2 separate regions of the Homo sapiens genome follow, and region 1 is linked to region 2. Evidence: promoter capture Hi-C in human tissues and cell types (Jung and others, 2019). All regions are on one chromosome and are shown on one strand. Each heading gives the region's core, a stretch centred on a gene start or on the middle of the fragment in contact. The rest is flanking DNA. Distances are from core to core; before and after follow the strand shown. Region 1 overlaps SIK3 (SIK family kinase 3). Region 2 holds the start of PAFAH1B2 (platelet activating factor acetylhydrolase 1b catalytic subunit 2).

Evidence for each region. The method cuts DNA at HindIII sites, captures the fragments that hold promoters and counts their contacts. A contact is called where the count stands out against the background at its distance.
Region 1: a fragment that was not itself captured here is called in contact with the fragment with the promoter of PAFAH1B2 in region 2 in 2 of the 25 tissues and cell types used here (dorsolateral prefrontal cortex and hippocampus).

What each region holds. Positions count from the first base shown.
Region 1 is chr11:117,032,383-117,038,392 of GRCh38, reverse strand. The region is part of intron 1 of SIK3 (SIK family kinase 3); the gene reads left to right. It also overlaps the pseudogene RPS27P19. Among named protein-coding and RNA genes, the nearest start is that of SIK3, 63 kb to the left of the region's middle. The HindIII fragment of the contact is 4,127 bases long and covers 1-3,548 here.
Region 2 is chr11:117,141,008-117,146,695 of GRCh38, reverse strand. It overlaps PAFAH1B2 (platelet activating factor acetylhydrolase 1b catalytic subunit 2), which reads right to left and starts at 2,409. Exons shown (of 6, transcript NM_002572.4): 1 at 2,278-2,409. RefSeq lists an enhancer at 1,150-1,329 and a silencer at 1,880-2,199. The HindIII fragment of the contact is 6,098 bases long and covers 1-4,330 here.

The sequences.
Region 1 (6,010 bases), core at 236-2,735, 110 kb after region 2:
AGAGCGAGACTCTGTCTCAAAAAAAAAAAAAAAGTATCTTGTAGCAGTTTATTCTAGGCCAGAGCCACAGTTTGTGTTGATTTGGCTAGAAATTATTAAAGTTGGTATTCTGTGAAATTTTGTTTGAGTGGTTCTTTGTTTGGTTGAGCGGGTTCAGATGAGGCTGAGAAAACAGGAAGATTGTGCTTGGAAGAGGGGGAGAAGGCTTCCTTAGGCCAAGGCAGGTCAGTCATTCTATAAGGAGAGTCTCTATACAGGATGTTTCTGCTTTTAAAAATATGGTCTGATATGCAAATTCACTTATCTAGTGCAAATGATTCTGGCAAAGGTTTCTACTTTCTTGATTCAGGAATAAGACAAAAGAGTTTTCCACCCCATAGTACACAACAAAAAAGAGGCATTATAAAACTTTTCAGAACTACTAAAGTGGTATGATTTTATGATTTCTTGTTGAATTCAGCATTTGAAAACAGAAGAAATGTGAAAACAGAGGAAAGGTGCTTAGCATAGGAATTAACTTGTTTCTTGGCAAGGAAACCAGGGTCAGGTGTTTGAATCACTTGGCTTTGTGGTGGTTCTGTTGGTTTTTGTGTGTGTGTTTTTCTTCTTCTGCTGGATTATCATCTCTTTTTTTCTGCCTTGGAAACTGTTGCTTTATCTAGGGCAATCACCCCACTTACACAGGAGGCAAATTCAAAGCTGGTTGCCTTATGTTGTTAAAAGCTGTCAGATTCACATCCTTTGCCATATCCTTCTTCAGGAGTCAGGACAATGAAGACAGGAGTCTAAACATGGGGCCAGAGTGAGCTGCCCCGTCCTCAGTACTAACACCTATTCCTGACAGCTTAAGTTGCTTCTCAGCCTTAGTGAAGCTTTCTCAGCTATTCTGGCTCATGATGATCATTCCCTCCTTTGAACTGAAATAGCCTAATTGTCTCTGAGTCATGTGGCAATTAGTCTTGTTTTGCTTTCTGATATCTCTTGTAGTTGACTTTTATTGTTAATGTATGCTGCTTGAAGGCAAGGGCTGTTGTGAATTTATTATATTGCTATATATTTTACAGAGACTCTTGATTTTTCCCTGGTTTACCTTGGGAAGTTTTCCTGCCTCTTAAATGGCGAGAGGATCCTTTAGAAGATTTCCTAACTCTCAGAATCTTTTAGATTTTTCATGTCATGCTGTGTTTGCTATGGCCTTGAAAAAGCAGTTTTTCCCTTTTTTGCAGCAGACACAACCAAGATTCTGGATAAAGACCAGGCAACACAATTTTCCTAGAGTAATACTTACCTTGAGTAGTTTCTTATGGGGAAAAAAGCCCCCAATATTCTTAGGCTTAATTTCTATGATCAAATATTTTAAAGATAGAAACAAATGATATATAGTAGTTAGGTATGGGGGCAGGCAAACAAGCAAAATGTTAAGATCTTGCATGACTAATTAGTACTGTATAAAACACATTTAAATTTTGTTGTACCCATTCTTACATTAGAAATGAATTGATTGATTCATATGGTATTGGTTTTCCTTTAAGGGATTTATTTCTTAATGAATCAGAGGTTTCACATTGAAAAAGAATCTGCGTATTTTTATATACTATCCCAACTTTCATCTGAGTTATTTCATGTTTTTCATTGCCCCATTGGAAACCGTATTTTGCCGAAGAGTCATTTAATATATTTTTCACACTGGCTTTGATTTGGTGACATGTAGCAGTTCTGGAAGAATTAACGATATGTTAACACAAGTTGACTGTGATAGAATAATTACAATAAATATGCCTATTTTCCTTTGGGGAGAAAAGTCTAAAATTCTGCTTTATAGAAGCTATTCTCAGCTCTAAAAGAGCATATATGTAGATCTTCATTTCTTTTCTTCTAACAATTTTAGGGGAAAATACAAACCTTAAGTTATTTCCTGAAATATTTCCCAGGATGATTACTACCTTGGATTTTAAGGCTTCTTTCTTCACAAGTTCTGACTCTTCTATAAGCACAATCAGAATGGTCAGAATGCTGACTCTCCTTTAGGTAGTCAGAATGGGTCTTCCAAACCTTTGTATGAGCCCATTAGCTGCCTCAGCTTTCCCTCAACTTTCAGGAAAACACAGGTTACATATTCTTTACGTTACTATGAGAAACTACCTACATTATTTTTTTTTAAATTTTATTTTTGGCTGGGCACATTGGCTCACACCTGCAATCCCAACATTTTGGGAGGCTGAGATGAAAGGATTGCTTGAAGCCAGGAGTTGCAAGACAAGCCTAGGTGACAAAGTGAGACCTTGACTATAAAAAAAAAAAATTAACCTTTCCGGCGGTGATGACCTACCCACACGAGAACATGCCTCTTGCAAAGGGTCTCCTTCATCCCTCTCCAGAAAAGGAGAAGAGGAAACACAAGAAGAAACGCCTGGTGCAGAGCCCCAATTCCTGCTTCATGGATGTGAAATGCCCAGGATGCTATAAAATCATCACGGTCTTTAGCCATGCACAAACGGTAGTTTTGTGTGTTGGCTGCTCCACTGTCCTCTGCCAGCCTACAGGAGGAAAAGCAAGGCTTACAGAAGGATGTTCCTTCAGGAGGAAGCAGCACTAAAAGCACTCTGAATCAAGATGAGTGGGAAACCATCTCAATAAACACATTTTGGATTAAAAAAAAAAATTAAAACAATTAGCCGGGCATGGTGGCATGCACCTGTAGTCCCAGCTACTCTGGAGGCTAAGGTGGGAGGATCGCTTGAGCCTAGGAGCTCAAGGTTACAGTGAGCTATGATCACATCACTGCATTCCAGCCTGGGTGACAATAGCCCTATAATGTAGGTAGTTACTTTTATCTGCATTTTACAAATGAAAAGAACTGACAGACATTGAGTTAAAATAACCAGTACAAAAATCACAGATGGGGGATAGCCAAAGCTTTAAAATGGAATAGCAGGAAGTTTTAATTTGCAAATAGAATCATTAATGTTTAATAGAATCATTAATAGATTTAATAGAATTAATGAATTGATAGAATCATTAATTCATACTTAGTTTGGAGTGATTGTTGAACACATTTCTCAGCTAATTTAGGTCTTCATTATATTTTAGAACATATTATCTGCATCATTAAAAAATTCCTCATTTCCTCATTGCCTATCTCTGCCTTTTATTCACTCAGTTTTAAAATAAACAGATTTTGTTTATACTGCTTCTTTTATTAATATTTATGGTAAGATATTTTATACTGCTGATAAATGGACATTAATGATATATAGCCTATTGTTTGAAAAAAGCATTTTGGATTATAGCCCAGAACTGGAAACAACCAAGAGATAAATAAATGGTGGTATATTCATACAATAAAATATTACTCAGATAAAAAAGTTCAGTTCAAAACTTTCAGTTTTATCATTGCATTATTTGCAGTTGTAAAACATGGTAACATCACAACCTTATGTTACAAAGTTATTAAAAATATTAGCAAGGTACACTGATTGCTGTAGCCATGTTACAATTAAGCTAAAGGAATTTCTTGTTAACCAAAAGCAAAAAATAAGTTTGGTTTTTTTGGATCTTAATTGACTATTTATAATAGAACTTGCCTTTGGGTAGCGAACAGATTCACAAATGAAAGAGGAGATTCTGGAACTTACTGTATAATTCCAGGTAACTCTGTAAAGTTTGAAATGTAAAGACCATGCCTTAATACAATTGATAATTGGAATCGTGCTGGCATCTTCTTAACATCTCTTGCTTGTCTGTGGAGCATGGCATGATTACTTATACATTACTACATTTAGGAAACAGCCTTTATAAGACCCACTTTTTCTGAAGTTTTTGGTGTTACTCTTTTCTTAACCACCAGTACTGATCTCATTATGTTTTGGCCGACTTACTTGAGGGCATGCTAAAAAGTGATCTAAATACTTAATTTCTCCCTTCAATTGTGCATCGTGTTTTACAAATAAACCGTATCTTTACTTTCATTTACTTGCATGTCACTGAGAAAATTTGAGATCTTTAGCATTCATGTCCTTGCCTGAAGTATAAGGATTTCACATAATTTCAGCTTTTATCATTCAAGTCTTATAGATGCTTTTCTCTTGTCTCTGTTTTCAAATAATGGTGCTAATTATATTTAAGGGGCAGTATGTTTATTCAATATAGTTATAGTGTTAGCAGTGTAGGATTTAACAAGCTTTTCCTCTGGAATGTATACTAGTTCTTCATGTTCTATGTGATAACTTATACAGTGCTATGGTATTTTTGTTGTTAGATTTAAGTTTTCTTTGAATTTTTTTTCTGTCCATAATCTTAGGCTTTCTTTTTGTGCTTACTGTTTTTTTCTCCCCCAGAATGATACATGGCAGCGATTATAAATCTGTTTTATAAAACTTAACTTCATTAAACATATGAAGAACGTGGGATTATTTTTCTTGTCATAAAAGGTGACCTCCAGTGACAAATGGCTATTACATTATTTATGTGAGATTCCTTCATTTCATATACTGTTATCAATGTGTTTGATAATGGTTGAAGAACCAGTTGGTGTTGGTTTCTAATACTAATTAATAATTTGCCTTGAGCCTGATCAATCTTCTTATATCCATTATCAGATTTTTTTCTTCAAATCTGAAAATGTTTTCTTTTCTTTTCCTTTTCTTTTTTTTTCTTTTCTTTTCTTTCTTTTTTTTTTTTTTTTAGACGGAGTCTCGCTCTTTCCCCCCAGACTGGAGTGCAGTGGCGCAATCTCTGCTCACTGCAAGCTCCGCCTCCTGGCTTCACACCATTCTCCTGCCTCAGCCTCCTGAGTAGCTGAGACTACAGGCGCCCACCACGACGCCTGGCTAATTTTTTTTTGTTTTGTATTTTTAGTAGAGACGAGGTTTCACTGAGTTAGCCAGGATGGTCTTGATCTCTTGACCTCGTGATCCACCTGCCTTGGCCTCCCAAAGTGCTGGAATTACAGGTGTGAGCCACTGCACCCAGCTATTTTTTCTATATTTTTATGTAGTTCATTGAGGGTAATAATTTTATCCTACAACAAACATGTAAGTTATTGAAGAATATTGGAGTTTTATGATAATGCTGTCATAAATATAAAAGGTAGGGTAAGAGGGATCCAAATAGAGCTCACTTATATTGTCACTGATAGGCAGTCACGCTGTGCTGATAGAATGTGGCCTGACACTTGATGGAGTGCAGCATATGTATACTTGGGCAATTTGAGCAGATATATACGGTCCCGAGTTTAAAGAAGAGAACAAACACCAGTGCACAGCTATAGTATTCCTAATATAGGATGCATTTTAAAGAATTTCACATTCTACAAATGGAGAGAGATGGCAGGAGAAGCCTTATTTTAAGTCCTGCACTAAGGCAGGTTAACCTCATGGGTGTAATTACCTGGACCTTTTTGTAAGGACAAAATATTTAATCATTAAAAGGCCCTCTGTAGGGTTTGAAATATCTATATTTTATATATGAATGCTTCTTTTATTAATATTTATGGTAAGATATTTTATACTGCTGATAAACGGACATTAATGATATATAGCCTATTGTTTGAAAAAAGCATTTTGGATTATAGCCCAAAACTGGAAATAACCAACAGATAAATAAATGGTGGTATATTCATACAATAAAATACTACTCAGATAAAAAAGATGAACTTAATCTCATAAACATTATGGGCAACATAGTGAGAACCCATCTCTTTTAAAAAAAAAAAAAAAAGAAAAGGTGGGTGTGGTGATGCGTGTCATAGTCCCAGCTACTCGGGAGGCTGAGCTAGGAGGATTGCTTGAGCCCGGGAGTTTGAGGTTGTAGTGAGCTATGATCATGCCACTGGACTCTAGCCAGGAGCCTGGGCAACAGAGCAAGACCTTGTCTCTAAACAAGGCAAAACAAAAACAAAAAAACAAAAATCAATTGCATTTTTATATATTAGCAGTGAACACATGGAAATACATGCAATACCATTTATAACAGTTCAATCAAAAGAAATACTTGAGCATATATCTAACAA
Region 2 (5,688 bases), core at 1,160-3,659:
TTACCCCGACAGGGTCTCAGTCAGTCGTTAGCTGGAGTGAAGTGGCGTAACACAGCTCACTGCAGCCTTGATCTCCTGGGCTCAAGTGATCCTCCCATTTCTTCCTTCCAGAGTAACTGGTACTGCAGGCCCACGCCACCACACATGGCTAATTTTTAAATTTCGTAGAGACGAGGTCTTGCCATGTTGCTCAGGCTCCAGCTGTTGTATTCTTTCCAATTGAAACGAAGAATTATCTGCTCTTATGGACACATAAAATAAGAACGAACTAAGAGCTACCCAGTGGTAAGACGCAAACTTCTGAGTGACTTTGGGTTTCCTGCGCCTGTTATCCCAGCACTTTGGGAGGCCGAGGCGGGTGGATCACTTGAGGTCGGGAGTTCAAGACCTGCCTGGCCAACGTGGCGAAACCCCGTCTCTACTAAAAAAAAAAAATACAAAATTAGCTGGGTGTGGTGGCACATGCCTATAAGCTTGAACCGGGAGGCAGAGGTTGTAGTGAGTAGAGATCGCGCCACTGCACTCCAGCCTGGGCGACAGACTGAGACTCCGTCACACACACAAAAAAAAAAAAAAAAAAAGAAAGAAAGACCAAGCAGAATGCAAATAAAAGGTCTGAAGAACAAGTTTTGTTAATTTGCCACAACAGACTGTACTCCAGGGGAAGCTTTGTTGTCCATTAAAGTGAGTTCTCTGGGAAGACGAGGAGTAACCGACTTGCACGATTTTCCTGCCTTTTCTATATTCTCTACTTACTATGACAATACAGCACTAGAATTTCCAAGTGCTTATACCAGCATAGTGCAATGTATTTAATGAGAAACCACGTCCAACAACAAAGCGTTATAACTTCTCCAGCTGAGTTAGATGTTTTAGTCTGAACCAGGAAAACAGATGAAGAAAGTTGAACCAAGAATTAAAAGATTTAGAGTTTCCACTCAGACCTAAGACTCTCCACTTTGTTTCAGAGGGAGTGGGTATGGTTATTCTGAAGAAGAAGGCGGCCCTTATCCTGAATGCCCGGTAGCCTCCGTGGGCTGGTGGGTGGTTCCTCCGGTCCAGCACCTCCATAATTTATGATCAAATGCCCAAGCCAACAAACTAATCCTCCCCTTCTCCCCCACAAGGAGGCAACCTTTATGTCAGAACAATGTGCCCAGAAGAAGCCAAAGACACAAGGCACATCCAAGGCAAAGACAATCTTAATTAAGCACTTTCTCCTTCCACTTTCTCCACACCTTTACCCCCGGCCCAACCCCTTCCCATAATTTCAAGCTGTACAAAATGAGGTCCTAGGGTGGATCCGGGTGGTCTTTCCTTTCTCTACGGGTAAGCTCTACAAAGAGGCGAAAGCTCCGAGTGTTAGTTCTTGTTTGTGTATAAATTCTGAAAAGCAACGCTGGCCTGCGAGCTATGAAAAGCAGAAGCATGAGTCACCACGCAACGGGTCAATCAAACCTGTAGACCAGAAGGCACGGATCTGGCAAACGGACGGTGAGCCAGGAAAAAAACATCCCCCCAAACCTCTCCGCTGACAGGTTTATCTAGCTGGCTGACCTTGGGCAGGTCACCAGCCGCTCCGAGCACATTCATGTCTAAGATGAGATGGGGGCTGGAAAGCCTTCCAAGAAATAATCCCTTCCGAGTGGTGACGGTCTATGCAACTTTTGAATAAACACATCCTAAGAGGCAACGGAGAAGTTTCTAAAGAGTTGAAATTTTTCAACAAAAGGAGGAGGGAAAAGTGCTCGGTAAAAACACAACGGAGTAACTGGTTTTGGCCTCCGACCAGACGCGAGGGGAGAGAAGAGTGAGAAGTTAGACCCCTGTGATAAAGGGAAAAGGCAGCAGCGGAGACCCGGGCAGGAGCTGCAGCGCCCAGCCGGGGCGAGCTGGGGTGCGCAAGGCCTACCGCGGGTGGGCCCGGCAGGGCAGGGCAGGGCAGGGCGGGGCGGGGCGCCCGCCGCGCTACCCTCCTGGGAAAGGCCGTGGAGGCGCCGGCCGGCGGCTGAGGAGAAACGCCAGCTTTCGGTATGGAATATCGGGAAAGGGCTCTCAGAGCGAAAACTAGCTGCGCCGGCTGCTGGGAAGCCGACGCTGGGCCCGCAGAGAAGGCGCGCGCTCGCGAGGCCCCCCCCAAGTGGATGGGGCGGCGTGGGGGGAGGGGCCGCAAGGGTGGGGGAGGGGAGGTCGCGGGCCTCTCACAATAACACCTCGCAGCCCCTTCCGACCCCCGCCTCTAAGCCACCGGTTCCCTGCGACCCTGGATGCACTCACTGAAGTAGAGGGTCCGTGCGGGCCCCAAGCGGCTGAGGCGTCGGCGGGTGGCGCGTCGGTCGCTCGCTCGGTCCCGTCGGTCCCGCTCCGGCGCGTCCCTCCTCCGGCCCCAGCACCAGCAGCAGCTCCTCCACTTCCGGTTCCCCTGCCACTCAGCCAAATGGCTTCCGGAAGTCCCGCCCCCATCCTGCCACGCCTCAGCGTGGTTCCTCTCTCCCCGCCTTCGCTCTCCCGGGCGCTGGCGGCGTGCGCCCAGGTGTCCCGCCACACCCCGTTGGGTACCCTGCTTTGTTCTCGCGGTTACCCCCATTTTGTGTGGCGTCTGAGGGACATGGGCTTCTCTCTTTACTCCAGCTGCATCTCTCAATCCTGCGTTCGTGCCACCGCAGTGTGGAGCTGGCATTCGGGACGATGTGGCGTGAAGTCACACTGACGCCATTCCCTTCACACTCAGCCAACTTGGCTTCCTCTTCCACCCATGGAATAAACCAGACTGCTGAAAGTGGGAGGGAAATAGCGGACCAAGGTTAAGGAGGCAGTACCTGACATTTATTAGTGGAATTTCTGTTTCTATGATGAATGTGGAGATTTTGGGTGACCGCCTGTAAAGGTGATACATAGGGGGATGACGAACCCCAGGCTTTTCCTTAAAAGATACATCCAGTTTAGGGGAAGACATACATATACAAAGTCAATATTGAAAAGATTATATGCTAAATAAATGCAGGATCTATAAAAGTAGAGAGGAGGGGCAAGAGATGTGCTCAAGCTTATAGCAGCGCAACGGTTGCTGGAGCAGTGCCCTGAACTGGCCCTTTAAGGATCTCAGCTCTATGCTGGTGAATAGGCAGAGCCTTCCAGGGCTCTTAAACTGATGCGGGGGTGGGGGTTGATTTTGCTGACAAAACCTGTTAAGAATACTGTAAAATCCTGGGAGCCTAAAATGTCAAGATATGTCAAGTAATTTTTCTTTTTTTTTTTTTTTTTTATTCAAGTTCTAGGGTACATGTGCACAACGTGCAGGTTTGTTACATAGGTATACGTGTGCCATGTTGGTTTGCTGCACCCATCAACTCGTCATTTACATTCCGTATTTCTCCTAATGCTATCCCTCCCCCAGCCCCGCAGTCCCCGACAGGCCCCCGTGTGTGATGTTCCCCGCCCTTTGTCCAAGTGTTCTCAGTGTTCAATTCCCACCTATGAGAACATGCGGTGTTTGGTTTTCTGTCCTTGTGATAGTTTGCTGAGAATGATGGTTTCCAGTTTCGTCCATGTCCCTGCAAAGGATATGAACTCATCCTTTTTACAGCTGCATAGTATTTCGTGGTGTATATGTGCCACATTTTCTTAATCCAGTCTATCATTGATGGACATTTGGGTTGGTTCCAAGTCTTTGCTATTGTGAATAGTGCCACAATAAACATACGTGTGCATGTATCTTTATAGCAGCATGATTTATAATCCTTTGGGTATATACCCAGTAATGGGATGGCTGGGTCAAATGGTATTTCTAGTTCTAGATCCTTGAGGAATCGCCACACTGTCTTTCACAATGGTTGAATTAATTTACACTCCCTCCAACAGTGTAAAAGTGTTCCTCTTTCTCCACATCCTCTCCAGCATCTGTTGTTTCCTGACTTTTTAATGATCGCCATTCTAACTGGCATGAGATGGTATCTCATTGTGGTTTTGATTTGCATTTCTCTGATGACCAGTGATGATGAGCATTTTTTCATGTGTCTGTTGGTTGCATAAATGTCTTCTTTTGAGAAGTGTCTGTTCATATCCTTTGCCCACTTTTTGATGGGGTTGTTTGTTTTTTTTCTTGTAAATTTGTTTAAGTTCTTTGTAGATTCTGGATATTAGCCCTTTGTCAGATGGGTAGATTGCAAAAATTTTCTCCCATTCTGTAGGTTGCCTGTTCGCTCTGATGGTAGTTTCTTTTGCCATGCAGAAGCTCTTTAGTTTAATTATATCCCATTTGTCTATTCTGGCTTTTGTTGCCATTGCTTGTGGTGTTTTAGTCAGGAAGTCTTTGCCCATGCCTATGTCCTGAATGGTATTGCCTATGTTTTCTTCTAGGGTTTTTATGGTTTTAGGTCTAACATTTAAGTCTTTACTCCATCTTGAATTAATTTTTGTATAAGGTGTAAGGAAGGGATCCAGTTTCAGCTTTCTACATATGGCTAGCCAGTTTTCCTGGCACCATTTATTAAATAGGGAATCCTTTCCCCATTTCTTGTTTTTGTCAATTTGTCAAAGAGCAGATGGTTGTAGATGTGTGGTGTTATTTCTGAGGCCTCTGTTCTGTTCTGTTGGTCTATATATCTGTTTTGGTGCTAGTACCATGCCGTTTTGGTTACTGTAGCCTTGTAGTATAGTTTGAAGTCAGGTAGCGTGGTGCCTCCAGCTTTGTTCTTTTTGCTTAGGATTGTCTTGGCAATGCGGGCTCTTTTTTGGTTCCATATGAAGTTTAAAGTAGTTTTTTCCAATTCTGTGAAGAAAGTCTTTGGTAGCTTGATGGGGATGGCATTGAATCTATAAATTACCTTGGGCAGTATGGCCATTTTCACAATACTGATTCTTCCTATCCATGAGCATGGAATGTTCTTCCATTTGTTTGTGTCCTCTTTTATTTCACTGAGCAGTGGTTTGTAGTTCTCCTTGACGAGGTCCTTCACATCCCTTGTAAGTTGGATTCCTAGGTATTTTATTCTCTTTGTAGCAATTGTGAATGGGAGTTCACTCATGATTTGGCTCTCTGTTATTGTCTGTTATTGGTGTATAGGAGTGCTTGTGATTTTTGCACATTGATTTTGTATCCTGAGACTTTGCTGAAGTTGCTTATCAGCTTAAGGAGATCTTGGGCTGAGACAATGGGGTTTTCTAAATATACAATCATGTCATCTGCAAACAGGGAAAATTTGACTTCCTCTTTTCCTAATTGAATACCCTTTATTTCTTTCTCTTGCCTGATTGCCCTGGCCAGAACCTCCAACACTATGTTGAATAGGAGTGGTGAGAGAGGGCATCCTTGTCTTGTGCTGGTTTTCAAAGGGAATGCTTCCCGTTTTTGCCCATTCAGTATGATATTGGCTGTGGGTTTGTCATAAATAGCTCTTACTATTTTGAGATACGTTCCATCAATACCTAGTTTATTGCGAGCTTTTAGCATGAAGGGCTGCTGAATTTTGTCGAAGGCCTTTTCTGCATTGATATAATCATGTGGTTTTTGTCATTGGTTTTGTTTATGTGATGGATTACGTTTATCAATTTGTGTATGTTGAACCAGCCTTGCATCCCAGGGATGAACCCAACTTGATTGTGGTGGATAAGCTTTTTGATGTGCCACTGGATTCGGTTTGCCAGTATTTTATTGAGAATTTTCACATCAATGTTCATCAGGCGTAT